Linked DNA regions of Homo sapiens: all the other regions are linked to region 2. Evidence: promoter capture Hi-C in 16 types of primary human blood cells and fetal thymus (Javierre and others, 2016). All regions are on one chromosome and are shown on one strand. The core of a region is centred on a gene start or on the middle of the fragment in contact, and the rest is flanking DNA. Distances in the headings are between cores, read along the strand shown.

Region 1 (3,888 bases), core at 1-2,500, 240 kb after region 2:
CTTGCTCTGTCACCCAGGCTGGAGAGCAGTGGCACAATCTTGGCTCACTGCAACCTCCGCCTCCTGGGTTCAAGCGATTCTCTCGCCTCAGGCTCCCGAGTAGCTGGGATTACAAGCACACACCACCATGCCCGGCTAGTTTTTGTATTTTTAGTAGAGATGATGTTTCACCATATTGGACAGTCTGGTCTTGAACACCTGACCTCAGGTGATCTACCCACCTCGGCCTCCCAAAGTGTTGAGATCATAGGCGTGAGCCACCGTGCCTGGCCTCAAAACCCTGGGATTACAGGTGGGAACCACTGCATATGGCTGAGTTGTACACTTTAAAAAAAATTTTTTTTTAAATATGGAACACTTCACAAATTACAGTGTCATCTTTGAGCAAGGGTCATGCTAATTTTCTTTGTATCATTCCAATTTTAGTATATGTGCTGCTGAAGTGAGCATTGAATTGTATAATTTAAAAGGGTAAATTTTGTGGTATACTATACTAGTTTTATGGTATACCATAAAATTGTGGGTATACTTTATAAAAATAAAATTATGGTATGTAAAATGTTACGGTATACCATAAAATTATGGTATACTTTATGGTATACCATTAAATTGTACTCAGGCAGTATGAAAAACTCAGTATAAAAAAATTCATAGACCTGTACACCAACAGAAAAAATTTTACTGCATAATTTAAAAAATAAAAAAAAAATTAAGTCCTGTGTCCGAAAGGCAGGAGCCAGGTTCTCACCTGTTGTGTGTCACCTAAGTTGCCTCATACAATAAATGCTGAGGACAGTGGTTCCCGGACGTGGGTACATGTCCAGGAACCACCTGGTTGGGGGAGGTCTTTGAAAACTTCTGATGCCTGGCAACCGCCCCCAGGCATTCAGATTTAATTGGTCTGAGGTACAACCTGGGTACTGAGATGTTTTTTTAAAGCTTCCCAGGTGATTCTAACATGCAGCAAAATTTGAGAACCACGGGCTTAGCAAAAGGTTGATGAACAACCATTCTTGGGAGCCAAAAGCTAATCCCCGCCCCACCTTACCTCACTTTCACCTCAAGGCAATCAGATCAGATCTGTCCTTGGCAAAGAGAACAGCTACAGCCAATCCTGCTGTTCACCATGCCGGACAGAAGTAAATCAGAGCATTCTCTCCAGTTCCTTAAGGGCCACTGCTCTCTCTATAAACATGTGGTTGATGAGATCAGCAATTCTGAAGCAGGATCCATTCTACAAAGCATGGTTTCTTCCGTTCTCCCCAGGTTTTCTCTCTCTTGCTGTCCCCATTTGTAGCTGGGGTTGGGAAGTGGAGGAGAGAGAAAGTCACTGAATAAATACATTCTCTGTGTTCTCAATGAACAGACATGAAAGAAAAGAAAAATGGTAAATACATTCCTAGTAGGGTGAGCCTCAGTAGGTTTCTGGATTACCCTTCCCAGAAACATTCATATTTTCAAAGAAGACCTCCTGGTAAACGAAGACATGAGTCACTAGTAAGGAAGGTTTTGAGGGACAGGGTCTCTTTCCTTTAACTTCCCAGACACATGTCTGGACTGGTCCTGATTGTTTGACCTGTCTGTTTTCTTAGAACAGAGCATGAGATCCTAGCTAGCTGCATTCCATTCACTTAACAATTTGTTGTTCGAATTTATTTATTTCAGTTACGATTAGGTTTTGTCTGTGGCATTTATCGTCTTTCTATGCCAAGCAGTCTCACACTAACTTGAAAGCCCTTTTGTATTATCTACTGTGTTTCCTACAGGTGAGTCTTTTCACCTTGTCTTAGTAATTAAGACTTCTGGTTGTAGATTACAAAAACCATCTCAAGCAAGTTTAGGCAACAATGGGAGTTCTCAATGAGATTACAGGTGGAACCAGGAAAGTTAAGCCTCAGGGAGAGCAGGAATCCAGGCATACGTGGTCTTTATCAGGGAGTAGACACCAGGGCCCCACCCCAGTCAATGGGGAAGTCAGATCTCAGAGAATAATAATCATTGAACATGAATTGAATGTCTGCTATGTGCAGGAACATATATTATTGATAACATATTCTTATGTTATCAGTATGAGTTATATTACTATTGCTCTTCCCATTTTATAAATGAGGAAACTGAGGTCCACAGAAGATAAGCAATATGTTCAAGAGCTTCCAGGCCAGGTCCGGTGGCTCACACCTGTAATCCCAGCACTTTGGGAGGCCGAGGCAGGAGGATCACCTGAGCCTCAGAGTTTTGAGTCCAGCCTGGGCAACATAGGGAGACCTTATCTCTACAAAAAATTTAAAAAGTAACCAGGTGTGGTGGTGGTGCCTGTGGTCCCAGCTATTCAAGAGGCTGAGGTAGGAGAATCACTTGAGCCCGGGAGGTAGAGTCTGCAGTGAGCTGTGACTGTGCCACTGGACTGCAGCCTGGGTGGTGGAGAAAGACTCGGTCTCAAAAAAAAAAAAAGAAGTAGGGGGTGGGGGGCAGTTCCAGTTGGCACTGGAACTCAGGCAGTATGGTTTCAGAATTGACACACTTAGCCACCAGGTGAATGGTTCCCTTAAGAGTTGTACAGTGGGCAACCTGCACACCCATACCTGGCAGCCCTGACTATGGACTAGATCAGTGTTTCTCATCAGAGACACTGAGGACATTTGGAGCTAGATAATTTTTTGTGTAGGACTATCCCATCCTTCATTTACTATATGTGAGTGGTAATAACGCTCCCAATCATTGTGACAATCAAAAGCCAATCATTGTGACAATCAAAAGTATCAACCTCTTGAAACTTAAAAAAAAAAGAAAATGAAAAAAAAAAATTTAAGTATCAACCTCAGTTGAGAATCACTAGGATAAGTAGATAGCCCCAAATGATGTCTACATCTATTTTGTGAGCTCTTGATGACCAGTAGCAATGTGACTTCTTTTCCTCTTCCCACAGTAGTTGGCCCAGACAACTGTATACATACTCCACAAATGCTGGATGTGCATTGTCATTAGAGCCTGAAAGGATCCAGAGTCCTCAGCTTGGTGCTTCCCTACCCAGGATGATAGGGATGGAAACATGAGTCATGCATGGTAGATTCACTCCAACATCCTACGGGAAGACACAACAGTTTTCTCAGTTTTTCATTTGGTCCGCTGAACAAGCCAGCATGGTAGAAGGGCAGGAATTAGTCATTCCTATTATGAAAAAAGAATGTAACAGTAAAATTGTTTTTAATTTTGGCAAAGAAAAAAGTAACTATAAGCCTATCCTCTGCACAACTACCCTGTTTTGCATGTTACCTCCTGGCCCTGTCTACATGCTCTCTCTCAGTGTGCACGGTTATAGTCAAAGGGTATACCATCTGGGGTTCTGCTATTTTCACTAAACATTTATAAATGTTTTCCTTGTTGCTACATGGTCTTCATAATGAATGATTTTTTTAATGCCTGCATAGTGTTCCATTGCACAAATCTACTTTTATTTTATTATTATTATTATTGTAGAGGCAGGGTCTCACTCTGTCGCCCAGACTGAGTGCAGTGGCACAATCATAGCTCATTGTGTTATAGGATGGGAAGCCTTGACTGAGTTGTCCAGGTTTTTGGCGTGTTGAACAAAGAATTGAACAAAATGCACAGACAAAACAATAGAAGATGAAAGCATACATTTATTGAAGTGAAAGTGCACTCCACAGAGTGGCTCAAGAACCCTGATTGTAAAGTTTCTTGGGGTTTTCATTGAATTGAAAGAGCATGGTAACACCCCTAAGCACCCTTTAGCAGCGTCTGATAGGTTACACTCTATACAAATGAAAGATTCTGCCCAGGACCAATAAGACGCAGAACTCTGCCCAGGACCAATCAGAGGCATCCCACTTGTGACCTATGAGCAAATGAAGATTTCAGAATGGACCA
Region 2 (3,823 bases), core at 855-3,354:
CTGCACTCCAGCCTGGGTGACAAAGCAAGACTCTGTCTCAAAAAAAAAAAAAAAGGTCAGGCTTGGTGGCTCATGCCTGTAATCCTAGCACTTTGGGAGGCCAAAGCAGGCGGGGCTGATCACCTGAGGTCAGGAGTTCAAGACCAGCCTGACCAACACGAAGAAACCCCATCTCTACTAAAAATACAAAATTAGCCTGGTATGGTGGCACATGCCTGTAATCCCAGCTCCTCAGGAGGCTGAGGCAGAAGAATCGCTTGGACCTGGGAGGGGGAGGTTGCGGTGAGCCGAGATCGCACCATTATACTCCAGCCTGGGCAACAAGAGCAAAACTCGGTCTCAAAAAAAAAAAAGTGCATATTCTAGTTGGGCATAGTGGCTCATGGCTGTAATCCCAAAAATTTGGGAGGCCAAGGTGGGAGGATCTCTTGAGACCTGAAGTTAAAGATCAGCCTGGGCAACATCACAAGACCCCAACTCCAGAAAAAATTTAAAAATTAGCCAGACATGGTGGCGTGCACCTGTAGTCCCAGCTACTTAGGAGGCTGAGATAGGAGGATCGCTCGAACCCAGAAGTTTGAGATTGCAGTAAGCTATGATTGCACCACTGCACTCCAGCCTGGACAACGAGACCCTGTCTCTAGAAAAAAAAAAAAAGGCACGTATTCCTGGACACCCCTCTCACCAATAAACACATCCTTGCCAGAGCAGAATCTCTGAGAGTGGGCCCAGGAGTCTTCAGTCTACCATGCTGCTGGGATGTGTCTTATACAAAAATCAGGAAGTAGGCCGAGCACAGTGGCTCGTGCTTGTAATCCCAGCACTTTGGGAGGCCAAGGCAAGCGGATCACCTGAGGTCAGGAGTTCGAGACCAGCCTGGCCAACACGGTGAAACCCTGTCTCTATTAAAAACACAAAAAATTAGCCAGGCATGGTAGCGGGCGCCTGTAGTCCCAGCTACTCGAGAGGCTGAGGCAGGAGAATTGCTTGAACCCAGGAGGCAGAGACTGCAGTGAGCCAAGTTTGTGCCACTGCACCCCAGCCTAGACAACAGAGTGAAACTCCGTCTCAAAAAAAAAAAAAAAAAAAAAAAATCAGGAAGTAGAAAGAGAATGGACTTTGAAGTCAGGGAGCTCTGGGCTGAACTCCTAGCTTTCCCCACCTCCTAGTTGTGGGAATGCTCTTTATCTTCTCCAAACCTGTGTTCTCTTCCATAAAGCTGGGGGCTCTGATCTGCATGTGGCGGGAATTATGAGGATTCAGATAAACAGGGAAAGCACAGAGGCAGATGCTGCGGACGCCCTCCCGCATCTTCTGGGGGTCCCCTCATCCTGGAGCCCAACGGACCTAACTTCTGACAGCCTGAGGGCCCCTGGGAGTGCTGAAGAATGAGTGTCCCACCCACTCCATCCAGCAGCCTTAACAAAGGACGGGGATGGAGTTGGTGTATAAGTACCCGCTCCCTCATCCTTCCAGTGGGATAACTCTGAGGTGCAGGTTCCATGCTGGCTCCTGAGTTTCCCAGCAAAATTAAGCTTCCGTCACCCGCCGGGGTGCCCTTCCTGACAACACGCCCCTGTAAGCTGCCTTCCTTCCCTGGGTCACCTCCCTACCCTCCTACTGGAGCTTCCTGTGAGCATCCCTCAAACAAACAACTTGCCCTCAAGTACTTGTCTCAGGTCAGCTCCTGCGGGACCCCAGGCTAACATAAGCCTGGCAGCCTGGAAATGAGCCTTTTTTTTGAGACAGTGTCTTGCTCTGTCGCCCATGCTGGAGTGCGGTGGCACAATCACAGCTCACTGTAGCCTCAACCTCCCGAGCTCAAGCCATCTTCCCACCTCAACCTCCAGAGTACCACCATTCCTGGGTAATTGTTCTCTATTTTTTGTAGAGACGGGGATTTCGCCATGTTGCCCAGGCTGGTCTCAAACTCCTGGGCTCAAGGGATCCACCCGCCTCGGCCTCTCAAAGTGCTGGAATTACAGGCAGGAGCCACCACGCCTAGCCGTGAGTTCTTTTTCCTCTCCTCGTCTTTGACTGTCAGTGTGGAGACCAGGTTGGCCCAGACCAAGCAAAGCCACCAGAGGGCCTGGATAGTGCTGTGGCTTGCAGGGATACATAGACACTGATGTCCGGGACCCAGCAAGGACAGTGTCCCCTGACTGTAAGGATGCCATCGAAGTCCCAGGAAAGGCAGCTCACCCTTCCCTTCCCCAGATCCCCAGTATCTGCTAGTCAGGAAGCAGAGCTATAGGCCCATCCACAAGAATCCCCTAATCCCACATCCCTCAGTCTGAAATTGGCCCTAACCACAACTTTCCCTATCTTCATCTTTCTTTCCTAGTTCCTCAGACACAAAGCAAACAGCCACTTCCCCGCTCCTCAGAGACACCTTGCCTCTAAATCTTGAAACTGCCAAGCCCCAGCTGGCTAGGCCACTGGCCACATGAATTCTAGTCCCCAGGGGCACTGAAGTCACCTCCCAGAGAAATCCCTATGATTTCATCTTCTATTTAATCTTTATTTCTCCTCATACTTTTCAGAACTTCAAATAATTTCTCGTTTGTAGTAACTAGGAAGCCATAAATCGCCCCTTTATGTCTAAGGAAAATCAATTGTTATTTGACATTTTACCTTAATATTCCCGACTTCCTTCAACTGTAATAAAGCTTCCATCTGCCTTTTATTTTACAGGCAATTAGTAAGTCACCTTTTTAAAATTTCTCCACATTTTCTATCAAATGAATGCTAGGATTGAAAGGGGAGAGCTGTTTTATGGGATTGAACTCACTGAGTAGAAGGGATTTATCTGTAGCCTTCGAGGTACCAACACTCATTAATGGGTTTTATTGATTTGGGGGCTTTTTAACCCTTAGCAATAATACAGGTGTCACCTGCCCAAGGCAGTTGGGAGGGGGCAGGGATGCTGGGAGGGGCTGTGAGGGAGTCCACACATTTCTGAGCCCTGGGCCCAAGCTAGAAAGGCAGAGAAATGAGATCTAACCCTTTGAAGTGTGATCACGCTCAGTGCAACCACACCCTCAGAGGTAAATCATAGCCCAGACACCCTCTTTTTCCTGGAGACAAAGTTGGAGTTTTTTGGGTTTTTTCTTCAAATTACCCAGGGGAATGCAATGCTTTTGCACCCCTATCATGGGATCAAAAGAAAGAGGCCCATTGTTGGGGTTCAAGGCCCTGGGCTTGGTCTGCCTCTTTTAGCCCTGGGGTTGTGGGCAGGCCAGGGAAGGAACCTCTGAGACTCAGTTTCCTACGATGTGAAGTGGAGAGAAGAATCTCCTCTTTAGCCACCTCTCAGGGCTGCTGGTGTTCGCCCCCAGACCACGTCTGTGAGAAATGCTTAGAAGACTATGCAGGGCGTAAGAAACTACATAAGGAACCAATGAGAATCCTAGTCACAAATGGAAACCTCAGTCCACAAACTCCAGAACGAAACCTTCCTTGCTTTTCTAGAACTCATCTTATGGGTTCTGTACCCCCCATTGCCTGGGCTGGTGGAACTCTGGTGCCAGTCTTTCCCTAGCAATTTCTCCAAAACCCCCCACGGCCTTTTCCACCATTCCCCTTCCTTGAAGGCCGCCATTTGACACTCAGAGCCCAGGAAGCCTTTCTTGGTCCAGACAGCAGGACTGGAAGCCTTAGAGCTGTCGGCAAGAGATGTGAGTCCTGTAGCTGAGGACAGTCCAGGCAGAGTATGAATAAGACGGCAAAAGTAAGTCCAGAAGACATTAATGGTAGACTTTGGGTGGCAGGTGTATGGGTGCTCACTATAAAATCTTTTCAACATTGCTATACACTTGAAATT
Region 3 (3,720 bases), core at 567-3,066, 200 kb after region 2:
TATACTTCGCTCTATTTTTGTACACAAATGAAGTTAACATCAAAACAATTAAACACTGGGGGTTAATGTCAATAACTTTTTTGTTTCTTCTAAAAGGCCAAGGTATTAGGAGTTAAAATGAAAACAGAGAGAAAGGTAAGCTCCCTGAAAGCAGAAATCTGTCTTGTTCTCTGTGGTATGCCTAGCCCCCAGCTCAATATTTGCTGAATAAAGGAAACATATTAACGAGATAGCAAAACCGACGAAATTATCACCTCATTATCAACTAAAAGAGAAGAATCCTGCGGGAAAAGTTATATAGGACAGACACATCTTGGCTGGGAGGCAAGAGAAAAAAGTAAACTAAAATATACTGGCTGCAGGGCATCTTCCTAAATGCTATATGGTGACCCTGTGAAGACATCGTCCCACTTCACAGATGAGAAAAACAGCTTCAGAGAAACTATGAATCTTACCAAAGGTCACTCGTCTAACTTCCCTAACCCCTCCTGTCACCTGCCCCTTCCCTTCCATCCCTCCGGTTGATGACTTTATCTTCATTTAGGAAACTGAAGAGTGGGCTGGAACTCTCTCACTCATCTTCCCACCACCAATCTCTAAACTCATCTGAATCTGCAACTGTATTCTCTGTCCTCGCTCCTGTTACAACTGAAGAAGCCTTGCTGTACGTACCAAAGGTCAATCCATCCATTGGTTGCCCTTGATCCCATCCATCCTCTGTACCTTCATAAAGGCTCCATCTGTCTATGGCTTTAGCTTTAGGACCCTAGCCTTTTCTAATTCCTCAGTTTCGGCTCCCCAGATGTAGTTTGCCCCAAAACATCTAGTGACTGGTGTTTAAGACATAGTACAGGACGCAATGGCTCACGCCTGTAATCCCAACACTTTGGGAGGCCGAGGGAAGAGGACTGCTTGAGCCCAGAAGTTCGAGACCAGCCTGGGCAATACAGTGAGACCCCCGTCTCTACAAAAAATTTAAAAATGAGTCGAGCTTGGTGGCGCCCGCCTGTAGTCCCAGCTACTCGGGAGGCTGAGGTGGGAGGACTGCTTGAGCCCAGGAGGTGGAGGCTGCAGTGAGCCGAGATCGTGCCACTGCACTCCAGCCCGGGAAACAGAGCGAGGCCCTGCCTCAAAAAAGAGTACAGGATGAACGGTCAAAGAACACAGTTAAAAGCACAGACGCTAACTACTATGTCACAGAGTGGCGTGAAGACCAAATAAAATAATGTCAATAAAGAGCTGAGCATCGCATCTAGCACATAGTGAGCACCCAATAAACGTCAGCCATCATCGTCGTCATCGCAGCATCTGCTGCTGTTGTTGTTAAACATGTTTAATTGAGGCTGAAAAAACAAACAAAAAACAATCAAGCAGAGATGACCGCCCCGGGCTTCACTGACAGCTCTGGGAAAGTTTCTAAAGTTTCTCGAGGGCTCTCAAGCCGAGGCCACGGCAGCGTGTACCCTGGGCACCGGTGTCTGCGACAGAGAGAGACAGATTCACACGAACATACTTTCGGTCCATCAACCACCTTTCTCCTTCCTCCTTCCTCCTTCCGCTTCCCTCAATCCCAAACTGAGGTCCCAGGGACCTCCCCGAGCTCACCAAGGTCCTTGTCGTTGATCCCCAAGTGATTGTCCAGCTCAGTGCAAACCTTTGACACCAAAGACAGGTACTCGAGTTTGGCAAGTTCTTCCGCGGGGCCTGGCTCCGACCCGATTAAGGCTCCCGCCATGGCTACAGCCACAGCCATGGCTATAGCTTGCCCAGAACCTCCTTCCTCACAGCCGGCGCTCAGAGCTACTCCGGCCGGGTTCCAGCTTTCACTTCCGGGTCAGCGCGCGTCCCCTTTGTTTACGGTAAATTGAAAATTTGAGGAACGAATCAAGTCCCAACAGGATGGATCATAGAGATCAAACAGGAAGTGCTTAAGGAAGGGACAACTAGAGTGGGTTACTCTGCACGCCGATCTGCGCCCTCTACAGGCGAGAAAAATCTCCGCCCGCCCTCAGGCCTGGAAACGTTCACTCAGCGCGCTCCCGCCCTGGGTCGGCAGAGGGCGACCCCGGCCTGCACAAGAGGCGCCGGGAGGCAACCGCAAAACAGCCTGCGCCTGCGCTTTAGAACACTTGAAAAAGGAATCTTAATGCACGTCTGGAAAAAGACAAACTTGCTTTACTGTGGATCCGCAAATTCCCGGCCTCACTTCTTTGTGGTTCCTGTCGTCCGATCTCAAGTGACCCTTGACAAGCCAGTAGGCAGTAGATTGCCTTCTCTTGTTTTACACACGAAGAAACTGGCACTTCCACTGCCAGCTGGCTGCTTGGGCAAATCAATCTCTGGGGCCTTAGTTTTCTCATCTGTAAACTAGAATAATGTTGCTCTACCCTAAATGGAATAACTGCAAGGAGTGTGACACAGAGTAGGCACACCGCAAATGACAGTTACTGTTAATATCACAAGGCTAGGCCGGGTGCAGTGGCTCACGCCTGTAATGCCAGCACTTTGGGAGGCCGAGGCTGGTGGATCACTTGAGGTCAGGAGTTCCAGACCAGCCTGGCCAACGTGGCGAAACTCCATCTCTACTAAAAATAGAAAACTTAGCCGGGCGTGGTGGTGGTGGGCGCCTGTAGTCCCAGCTACTCGGGAGGCTGAGGCACAAGAATCGCTTGAACCCAGGAGGCAGAGGTTGGAGTGACCTGAGTTCACACCACTACACTCCAGCATGGGCGACAGAGTGAGACTTTGTCTCAAAAAAAAAAAAAAAAAAATTCAAGGCTGAGATGATGGTCACAGAACTGGCCTCTGGTCTGTCAAGCACAGATCCCCTTAGTCTGGGAACCCACAGAGCCAGCTGCCTCCACTCTTGTGAAAACCTGCTTTTCAATCCCCAGTTTTCCTGTGTCCTCTCAGAACTTATTCCCCCAGGGGCTGGGCACTGTGGCTCACCCCTGTAATCCCAGCACTTTGGGAGGCCGAGACGGGCGGATCACTTGAGGTCAGGAGTTCAAGACCACTCTGGCCAACATGGTGAAACCTCGTCTGTACTAAAAATACAAAAATTAGCTGGGCGTGATGGTATGTGCCTGTAGTCCCAGCTACTAGGGAGGCTGAGGCGGGAGAATTGCTTGAACCTGGGAGGTGGATGTTGCAGTGAGCTGAGATCTCGCCACTGCACTCTAGCCTGTGCGACAGAGTGAGACTCCGTCTCAAACAAACAAAACACACACACAAAAACAACAACAAACCTTATTCCCCCAAATATCAGCTGTGCTGTAAGTCCAAGGTCATAAGCTCAGGTCTCCCAACTTCTGCTTCAGGTCTTTTTTACCTTTGTGGCAACCTTAATGTGGGATGGGGATTTTTCCCACACTCCAGTGCTCTGTGTGATGAGTAAGGAAACAGAAGCACCCTAAAGTGAATGGCTCTCCAATCAATCGGAAGGAGGAAATCAGTCTCCCACTTTTCACTTTGGCAACATTTTTACACTGGTGTACCTTTGGACTCTGTTTCTTCAACATCTCATCATGGACTGAAAAATGACAGGCAGAGAAAAACCCAGCCATTGTTCTCACTGTCTCCAGAAGCTCCAGGTTTCCAGGTTCCTAAGGAATCACTACTAAACCCTCTGAGTTCTTCCTACCCCTCCCCATTTCGCTTCCTCTTTCTCCCCATGAATAGAATGGAAAACTCTGCACTTGATCCAATGTGCTCAATTTG

What was found. The method cuts DNA at HindIII sites, captures the fragments that hold promoters and counts their contacts. A CHiCAGO score of 5 or more calls a contact.
Region 1: a contact is called between the fragment with the promoter of MIR2117HG here and a fragment that was not itself captured in region 2, in 1 of 17 cell types (endothelial precursors). The highest score is 6.9, in endothelial precursors.
Region 3: the fragment with the promoter of DHX8 here is called in contact with a fragment that was not itself captured in region 2 in 4 of 17 cell types (endothelial precursors, M0 macrophages, M1 macrophages and 1 more); the score reaches 9.2 in endothelial precursors.

Annotation. Positions count from the first base shown.
Region 1 is chr17:43,442,069-43,445,956 of GRCh38, reverse strand. It overlaps MIR2117HG (MIR2117 host gene), which reads right to left and starts at 1,250. Exons shown (of 2, transcript NR_146952.1): 1 at 1,049-1,250. MIR2117 (microRNA 2117) reads right to left here and starts at 1,151; the gene lies at 1,072-1,151. It also overlaps the pseudogene RNU6-406P. The HindIII fragment of the contact is 4,934 bases long and covers 942-3,888 here.
Region 2 is chr17:43,682,722-43,686,544 of GRCh38, reverse strand. The region is part of intron 3 of LINC02594 (long intergenic non-protein coding RNA 2594); the gene reads right to left. The region is part of intron 1 of LOC107985085 (a long non-coding RNA gene); the gene reads left to right. Among named protein-coding and RNA genes, the nearest start is that of LINC02594, 20 kb to the right of the region's middle. The HindIII fragment of the contact is 1,134 bases long and covers 1,538-2,671 here.
Region 3 is chr17:43,482,071-43,485,790 of GRCh38, reverse strand. DHX8 (DEAH-box helicase 8) reads right to left here and starts at 1,816. Exons shown (of 23, transcript NM_004941.3): 1 at 1,606-1,816. The coding sequence starts at 1,753. RefSeq lists enhancers at 1,552-1,981, 1,281-2,123. The HindIII fragment of the contact is 15,734 bases long and covers 1-3,720 here.